Regions from separate parts of the Homo sapiens genome. Here all the other regions are linked to region 2. The links are contacts of gene promoters, found by promoter capture Hi-C in human tissues and cell types (Jung and others, 2019). All regions are on one chromosome and are shown on one strand. Each heading gives the region's core, a stretch centred on a gene start or on the middle of the fragment in contact. The rest is flanking DNA. Distances are from core to core; before and after follow the strand shown. Region 1 overlaps ZBTB40 (zinc finger and BTB domain containing 40). Region 2 holds the start of CDC42 (cell division cycle 42). Region 3 has its middle 73 kb from the start of ZBTB40.

Evidence for each region. The method cuts DNA at HindIII sites, captures the fragments that hold promoters and counts their contacts. A contact is called where the count stands out against the background at its distance.
Region 1: a fragment that was not itself captured here is called in contact with the fragment with the promoter of CDC42 in region 2 in 2 of the 25 tissues and cell types used here (heart left ventricle and hippocampus).
Region 3: a contact is called between a fragment that was not itself captured here and the fragment with the promoter of CDC42 in region 2, in 2 of the 25 tissues and cell types used here (IMR-90 fibroblasts and bladder).

What each region holds. Positions count from the first base shown.
Region 1 is chr1:22,490,356-22,493,303 of GRCh38, forward strand. It overlaps ZBTB40 (zinc finger and BTB domain containing 40), which reads left to right. Exons shown (of 18, transcript NM_014870.4): 2 at 1-290; 3 at 1,045-1,178. Among named protein-coding and RNA genes, the nearest start is that of ZBTB40, 40 kb to the left of the region's middle. The HindIII fragment of the contact is 3,271 bases long and covers 1-2,948 here.
Region 2 is chr1:22,051,062-22,054,056 of GRCh38, forward strand. CDC42 (cell division cycle 42) reads left to right here and starts at 1,648. Exons shown (of 6, transcript NM_001791.4): 1 at 1,648-1,681. RefSeq lists silencers at 1,737-1,886, 1,947-2,166, 2,177-2,356 and enhancers at 2,069-2,636, 2,637-2,995. The HindIII fragment of the contact is 8,517 bases long and covers 680-2,995 here.
Region 3 is chr1:22,377,765-22,380,771 of GRCh38, forward strand. No RefSeq gene overlaps it. Among named protein-coding and RNA genes, the nearest start is that of ZBTB40, 73 kb to the right of the region's middle. The HindIII fragment of the contact is 5,446 bases long and covers 1-3,007 here.

The sequences.
Region 1 (2,948 bases), core at 354-2,853, 440 kb after region 2:
ATTCAGAAAGGAACCAGAGAAGCCTCAAGTAGAAATCCTTTCATCTGAAGGTGCTGGAGAGCCTCATTCTTCCCCAGAGCTTGCTGCCACTCCAGGGGGCCCTGTGAAAGCTGAGACTGAGGAAGCAGCCCATTCAGTTTCACAAGAGATGAGTGTGAATTCTCCCACAGCCCAGGAGAGCCAGAGGAATGCAGAAACCCCAGCGGAGACTCCTACTACAGCTGAAGCTTGTTCCCCCTCCCCTGCTGTGCAAACCTTTAGTGAGGCAAAGAAGACAAGCACAGAACCAGGTAACAGTCATTGTTTTATATTCCATCCTTCTGTTTTCAATGATCTTTATCAGTTTTAATGTTTGATTAATAAATTTATCAAAGACCACTGTTAGGTAGAAAACCAAAATTCAGTGCAGTACCGTACTGGGCCATTCTTTTAAAAGTGTCTGTGTTTTTGAACATTGAAAGTCCAAACATGAACTACAGAGCAGAAAAGCAGTATTGGAATAATGACGTACCATTTCGATAATTATCTGTTTCGTTTTGTTTTGTTTTGTTTTCTCTCGAGACGGAGTCTTGTTCTGTTGCCCAGGCTGAAGTGCAATGGCATGATCTCAGCTCACTGCAACCTCCGCCTCCTGGGTTCAAGCAATTCTCCTGCCTCAGCCTCCTGAGTAGCTGGGATTACAGGCATGTGCCACCACGCCCAGCTAATTTTTTGTATTTTTAGTGGAGATGGGATTTCACCATGTTGGCCAGGCTGGTCTCGAATTCCTGACCTCATGATCCACCCGCCTCAGCCTCCCAAAGTGCTGGGATTACAGGCGTGAGCCACCGTGCCCTGCTGATTATCTGCTATTTTAACCAGGCTGAGGACAGCACAAAGGAGGAAGCTGTGAGAGATACTGTTGTCTGTTATTCATAACTGATGTGCTAGACAGAGATCAGTTAAGTGCAGTATATGACCTGAAGGTGCTCAGACAGCTTAAACTTGTAAAAATTTATTTCAAGTAATGAATTTCTGATTTGTTTTATTTTGTTCTACATTTAGGATGTGAAAGGAAACACTACCAGCTGAATTTTCTTCTAGAAAATGAAGGTGTCTTCTCAGATGCACTCATGGTTACCCAGGATGTTTTAAAAAAACTAGAAATGTGTTCAGAAATTAAAGGTCCACAGAAGGAGGTAGGCACCTCTGACTTTTGTACTTGTTTGCTAGTTTAGTGTTCTCAGGATACCTTACTAACTTTTTATATGGGGCAGAAATAGCCCAGGGTTTCAATGTTTTGAAACTTTAATTTTTTTTTTTTTTTGGACATTTATTCCCTAAAGGGCAGTCTTGCAAAAGTACTTAGGCAGGATACTTTCAAAATGACATTACATCTTGATCACCAGGAGAATCCTAGCTTCTAACCAGTTTTGATCCAGAATACTTAACTGATCATACCATTTACTCCTGATTAATCACAGATAAGATTAAGAAGGTAGCCATGTATAACCTCAAACCTGAGACTTAAACCATTAAAATTAAAACAAAACAACAGATACTCAAAACATGAACAAAAAGGACTTTATATAAACTTATAAATTATTGGTAAAATGCATCTAATATTTAGGAATAACAGTGGCCATTTTCAGACATAAAAACAGTAATAGTAAACATTCAACGAACACTTCCTGTATTAAGCTTGGCATATGTGTTACCGCATTTAATTTTCACAAAAATCATCAGTGTGAGTATTATTGTTAAGTCCTGTTTTATGCATGAGAAAACTGTCTCAAAGAGGTGGTGTAATTTGGCGAAGGTCACAGAGCTCATATGACCCTGAGCCAGAATTGAAACCTCAGCATTCTAACTTTAGAGCTGCTCCCTTACACACTGAGTTTATACTGCCTCCCAACAGGGTAAAAGTGATGCATATATATATAAGTGCTTAGGAATCGCCTGACAGGAAACTGCCAAATGGCTATCATGCTTTCTTAGCTGACCTCTTTTTTTAAGTAACTCAGTTGAGACGCATTTCCACCTGTGTGATCTCTCAATACTTGATTCTTCACACCTGACCCTGCAGGATTCGACTCCACAACCAATTTAGAATTCCATTTATTTCCCTTTTCTCCCAGCCCTGCTTCCCCTTTCTGAGAGGCTGCTGGCAGAGTGAGAGGGCGCTGCCCCGGCAGGCTTGCTCCTCTGATTGGTAGGGGGTAGTGTGGGCCGATCCTCCCATGTTGCTATAGGCAATTTTGTATTAGTCCAAGTAATACATGCCTTCTAATAATTAAATGTTTTCCTGATTCATAGCAACTTTTTTAAAAAACAAATTCAAGGTCTAGTATTTATTTTAGCTGTGTTAACTGACAGTCGACTATACATTGTTTTCTTGGGAGACAAGCTATTTACAAGGCTAGGCTAACCCTGATGACTCTCTTTGGGAGGTTTCAAGTCATAAATCCTTGGTACTCTTTGTACTGATTATGCTGAAGGACATTATGGTTTTATATTTTTGCACTTGCGTGTTCTCTTAACTGTTCAATCCATCATTTTTGTCATTAGTTTGTTACCTTGATAGCTTCTAAACACACCTCTTCATTTTCTCTTAAAGCTTCCTCTCCACTTAACTTTGGCTACAGAGGAGTAACGTTATTCCTTAGATCAGCAATACTCAAGTTATTAGTGTCACCTTTATACTTAGTTGAACTGTGTCTTATGCATTTTTTTTAACATTGGTACCTAAAAGTATGTGGCATGTAACAGGTGATGAAGAAATGTCTGTTATACATGCATTCGTTCAACATTTCTTTTTTTCCATTTCTTGTTCTAATCTTTTGATGGCAATATCATTAATATACTTCAAAAGAACACTGATTTGCTGTTGGTGATCATTATAGGCTTATGTTATTTCTTCCTCAGTTTTAGAGGTCAGAGTAGGAGCTCTGCAAATCACTTGGTGGCTG
Region 2 (2,995 bases), core at 398-2,897:
GACAGAGTCTCGCTCTGTTGCCCAGGCTGGAGTGCAGTGGCGCGATCTTGGCTCACTGCAAGCTCCGCCTCCCGGGTTCACGCCATTCTCCTGCCTCAGCCTCTCGAGTAGCTATGACTACAGGAGCTCGCCACCACGCCCGGCTAATTTTTTTGTATTTTTAGTAGAGGCGGGGTTTCACCGTGTTAGCCAGGATGGTCTCGATCTCCTGACCTCGTGATCCGCCCGCCTTGGCCTCCCAAAGTGCTGCGATTACAGGCATGAGCCACCGTGCCCGGCCTAGGATAAGCAATTTAAGCGATTTTTCTCTAACATGGGGAAACATCTAAGAATAAGAGAGGGAAGTTCTCTATTTTCCTGAAGCTTTCATACTAGCAGAGAAGACAAATAATAGATACTGCGAAGATAGGATGATTGAAGAATGCAGTGATATAAATTTGGGGGAAGAGGAGGGAGGCAGAGCAAAGAAATTCAAGGCCTTGGCCAGACGTAATGTCTCACACCTTGTAATCCCAGCAGTTTGGGAGGCTGAGGCAGGCTGATAGCTTGTGTCCAGGAGTTCGAGACCAGCCTGGGCAATCCAGCAAAACCCTGTGTCTACAAAAAAATACAAAAATTAGCCAGGCATGGTGGCATGCGCCTGTGGTCCCAGCTACTTGGGAGGCTGAGGTGGGAGAATCGCCGGGACGTCGAGATTGCAGTGAGCTGAGATCGTGCCACTGCACTCCTGCCTGGGTGACAGAGCAAGAACGTCTCAAAGAAAAAACAACAACAACAACAACAACAACAACAACAAAAACACAAGGCCTGTGGTTGGGGGAAGGTTGTAACTCTAAAAAAGACCCATGTGGCTACAGCGAGGGACACTGGGTGTAGGTAGAGATAAGAAGAGTGATACTCAGTTCTCACATCACGGCGGACTGAATACAGGCCCGGGGAGTGAGAGACCATCCACCCCTGTGATCTGGGGCAAGTCACCAGCCCTTTCAGAGAAGCTTCCGTCTTCTCTGCAAAATGGGACAATACCTTGCTTCACAAGCTTGCAAGGATCAAAAGAACTGGTAGTGGGCCGGGCGCGGTGGTTCACGCCCGTAATCCCAGCACTTTGGGAGGTCGAGGCAGGTGGATCACTTACTTGAGGTCACGGGTTCGAGACCAGCCTGGGCAAAATGGTGAAACCCCGTGTCTGCTAAAAATACAAACATTAGCCTGGCGTGGTGGCAGGTGCCAGTGATCCCAGCTACTCGGGAGGCAGAGGCAGGAGGATCGCTTGAACCCAAGGGGTGGAGGTTGCAGTGAGCTGAGATCGCGCGCTGCACTCCAGTCTGGGCAACAGATCAAGACTGTCTCAGAAAAAACAAACAAAAAAGAACTGGTAGAGGAAGCGCTTTGCATACTATCGTTCACAGTATTATTACAAATACAACCATTAGGAAAACATGCAGAGCATAGCCCCGAACTCACGAGCTGCGCCGGCCCGCGCGTGCGCGACAGGCGGGCGGAGCCAGGGCAGTCCAGGCACCGCCTTGACCCGCCCCAGCCTCTTCCCCTTCCCTGTTCCTCCCACTTCCGCGGGCACCCAACTGTGCGTCTCCTGCGCGCTGACGTCAGGTGCGTGCCCCTGTCCGGCAGCCGAGGAGACCCCGCGCAGTGCTGCCAACGCCCCGGTGGAGAAGCTGAGGTGAGTGCGGGGCCCGAGGTTCCCCGCGGGAGCTGCCACCCTACCTTCCCATCCCCGCCGTCTCCGTCCTCTCCCAGTCCTCGGGGACACCCCGTCTGCGGGATCGTGGGGGGCCCGGGAGCACGGGTTGTGGGGGAGTGCCCGGCTCGCGCTGCGTCCTCCGGGCGGGCGCGGGTCCGCGTTCTGTGGGGGAGCCGGGGCGGGGGTCGCGGCCGGGGAGGCAGGGGGCGCCCGTCTGAGGAGGGGCGCGCGGCCGGGGCTCGGGGCGCGAGCGGGACCGGGCTGTCACCGGCAGCGGCGGAAGGAAGGGGGTCACACCCATCCTGGGCGCCCGGGCTCCCCTCCCCCCAGCCCGGCCCGGCGGGCTCCTAAGGGCGGCCGGGGGCCTCAGAGCGACTCGCGGGCGCTTGGGCCGGGCCGGGCGCCGGTCTTCCGTGCTGGCAGGCTGCGTTCCGTGCCCTGCGCTCCGGCCTGGACTTCCTGCTTCGCCGGGCGCCGCCGCGGACATTTTGCGGCGGGGGTGGGGGGGCGGGGGAGGGGAGTGGCGTTGCGGCCGCGGCGGGGCGGTGGCAGGAGGGCAGCTCGCTGGCTGCTCGCGGCGGTGCCTGTCCGAGCTCCCCTCCGCGCCGGCCGCGTCCTCTGGGCGGGGTGGCCCCGAGCCACGGCCTCCAGGCTGCTCTTCCTTTCGGAGGTCGAGTTCCTAGCATTTCCATCCGCTCCTCCAGCCCGCTCCCTGCCGGTTTAGCTGAAGCTTCCCTTTCGGGGAGTTACCTAACTACCTCCCGAAGCCGTCGTTCTGCTGCTTGGTTAATTCCTCTTATCGGGGGGGAATTTTCTTTGTTCGTTTGTTTTTCCTCCCCTTTAAGTCCAAGATAAATGTAGTGTGGAAGATTACGTCATCGCGGTATAAGGAGTGAGACTTAACTCCTACAAGTCAGGGACTTAAATTCAAACAGCATTTTGCAGCCTTAGTCGGTCACCCAGTGGCTTATCCTGCCTGCTTCCCAACACGTCGTATTCACAGATGATGTTTTGAAAGCTTGTTACTTGTGTTCATGACCGCCTTCAGTGCACCTAAAAGCTAGGAAGGTTTAAAATCCCAGGATTAGTTTGTGTCAGGGAATAAAGTGTAAGACAACACCGTCCACGGCCCCTTGCGTGGCATTAACTTTAAATAGAGGTCCCTTTGACTATACTAGAATGAGGTGGGTTTATTTGTGGGAACACTTTTCGGTCCAAAATGACTTTCCCAGACTGTTTATTCTCCTTTATGACTTACTGCATGCTGGGAATCTCCCTAGGTTGATTCAAGTG
Region 3 (3,007 bases), core at 87-2,586, 330 kb after region 2:
AAGGCCTCCTCTATGGCTCCAGGTTTCAGGAGGTCCCTGAGTAGCCTGTGGTATTTTGTTAGGGAGGATTTGGCAGTGTGTCTCAGAGGGCATCCAAATATCTTGGGCAAGTCACTTAACCATTGGAGAGCCTAAGCTTCCTCGTCTATGAAATGGGGATAAGAAGTCTTCTCTTCCAGGGCTATCATGATGGTTAAATGAAGTAATGCACATAAAGCACTTAGCACAGGGCTTGTGCTTGAAAGCCATTTCACAAGCAATAGCACGATTATCGTTCCTGTTATTAGGCTTTCAGGCCCAGCTCATTTCTGCCCCCTCCAGGGAGTTTCCCTTGACCATCTGCACCCCTATCAGCTGCCTTCTTTTGTAGCAGAATTGACCCGTTTGCCAAGCACTTGGACACTGTCTCCTCCAGGAGTCTTGCTCAAACTTTGGGACATCGGAAACCCCAAGGGGAATGTGTTACAAATGCAGACTCCTAGACCCACCTCCTGAGGACCCTTGCCAGAGGCCTGCTGTGGGGCCCAGGAACCTGCATTTTCACCAACTCCCACACCCTGAGATGATTCTGAAGCAAGACCGTACCTGGAGAACACTCATATGTGCATCATCGCATTTTATAGATGGGGAAACTGAGGTTCAGAGGAGAACACAGATTGGCCCAAAGTCACATAGTGATTCACTGGCAGAGTTGGGCTTGCACAAGAATTTGTGCCTTGTGGACCTGGGCTGGTTCCGCCCTGCTGTGGAGGGGCTCCCTCTCTTCAGACTGAAGCTTTCCTACAGCCCCTCAGCATGCCTTTCACCACTGGGTGCTCCAATTCTGGCCTGCCTCTTGCTTCCAGAACATATGTCCACCAGGGCCCTGAACCTAGTTGGTGCTCAACAAATATCTTCCAGATGATGGGCATGACTCAGGCAGGGCCAACATATTTAGCAGATTTTTTGACAGACAGGTTGGGAATGGCATGAATGACCTGGCCATGGGAGTGATGGAATCTCCAAAATGGCACTAGGAAAAAACCGTCATGCCTTGATGGGTCCCAAAATGTATATAGTTTTTCTTGGTTTTTCTTTTCTCTTGACAGAGATGCTGAATAAACCTGCTAGAATGTAAACTCCAGCAAACGGGAGTTGCCTGGACTTTACCCTCCCCCTGCCTGGCATGCTGTAGGTGCTCAATAAGTGTTGCTGAGAGGAAGGATATGAGCTGTGGACTCTGCTTCCCACTCTAAGTAGTTTGTTCTCACTGTAGATGGTCTGATGGTAACAAAAGTGTTATGTCCCCTGGAGGTGTCCCTGCTCCCCTCCCACAACCCCTCCCAACCCCTCCAGCTGTGGAGAAGGCGGAGATGGAGAATCACGAGTTGGTCCCAGTTCCCATTCTTGGGCCATCTTCTGCAGCTCCGTGTATCTATGGGATGGAGTGTGGGTGGGAAGAAGGCTGATGCTGAAATCGCCACTGCACCGCCAGGCCTGCCATCCCCTCTGGCTGCCCGGCCTTCCTCCATTAGCACTTTGGCGCTGCAGCCCTTGGCTGAGCCCAGACTGGATTTGATTGATTCTTTATGGGCTGCAGATTCGATACCCATGCAGAGCACATGTGGAGGATAAGCCAGGGAGGAGGCGGGGGAGAGAGTTGAGGCCAGGGAGAACCTGGGGGGTCAGACCCTAACCTTTGCAAGACATGGGGCTTCCCCAGGCCTGGCCCAGACCAGGACGCCCCTTCCTGCTGCACCCTCATGCCAATGACTCTGGTTTCTAGAATTGCCCTGAAGTTCATTTCCCAGCAATGTCTGATCAAATAGGGATGTCCAAGGGCAGGCTCTTCAGATGGGACAAGCCCGGGCTAAACGTCCTCCCCAAAAAATGCAATGTGAGCATTGTTCATCTGTTATTGATTGGGAGACTGTGAGCTTTGCTTCCAAAATCTCCAATAAAACTGGCTTGGAAGAGAATTTCCTGAATCCCTGGGTAAGTGGATAAAGATGTTCCAGGAGTCTGGGGTGGTGCCGGTGGGGAAGCTCACACACCATGCACAGTTGGTTTTTCCCTTTGTTACTTAATGAAGAACAGAAAACAATCAGCCTCATCTCTCTGCATCCAGAGTCGGCTCCCTTCTTCCTTTGAGTTAATTTCCGGTTGGAGGCTGGTGCCTGCTTAGCCGGAGGGCCCCCGGGAATCTGCTCCTCTTCTCTTTTGGGTTGGGGGCTGGAGGCGGCTCATTCTTCTGGGCATCCCGTGGTAGGGGTCTTGCACCTGCGTGTGGCATTAGGCGGGTAGGGGGTTTTGAGGGAGCACAATAGAGCATTTGGGAGCTGGCTCAGTTGCTGGAGCAGCCTAGGTTACAGAGAGATGCAGCCAGCTCTGAGGTCCTGTCTCAGCCGTGACCAGCCTTGTGACCTTGGGCAAGGGACTTCAATTTCTGGGCCTCAGTTTCTTCATCTGTGAAATGGGCATCATTTCAACCCCTGCTTCAAAGGGTTATGATAAGGACTCGAGGAGGCTATGGATGTAAGGCACTTGTGTGGTGCTGGTGCAGAGCAAGCACTCAATACATGTGGGTTGTTAGTCCTATTCGCTCCTGACATCAGCAGCTGGGACTCCGCTGACTTCATGGTGAGCCCCAGAGACAAGAGAGATGGGATCACCCTTTCCTTGGACTGTTCCTCCCCTTCCTCCACCCCCACCACAGCCCCCTGGGTCACGGCCGGAAGGATGAGGACAGGCTATCTGAGTCAGAGTGTGTGTCATCTGGGAGTGGGGGGTGGGGTGCCCCTCCATGGGAGAAGAGCCTGAGGCAGGCCAGGAGCTAGAGACCTCAGCCCAAGCCAGGGTGTGGCTGGAGAGGTCAACTTTTGGCCTCATGACTCCACTGTGTGGAGAAAAGAGGCTTGGGCAGCCTCCCGCCTCCAACATCACTGATCTGGGCTTCCTTAGCCCTCACAGCAGGTGAGGAAGGTGCCCCCTACAGGTGGTCTCTTCCCCTGAGCACCTCTGGGGCTTC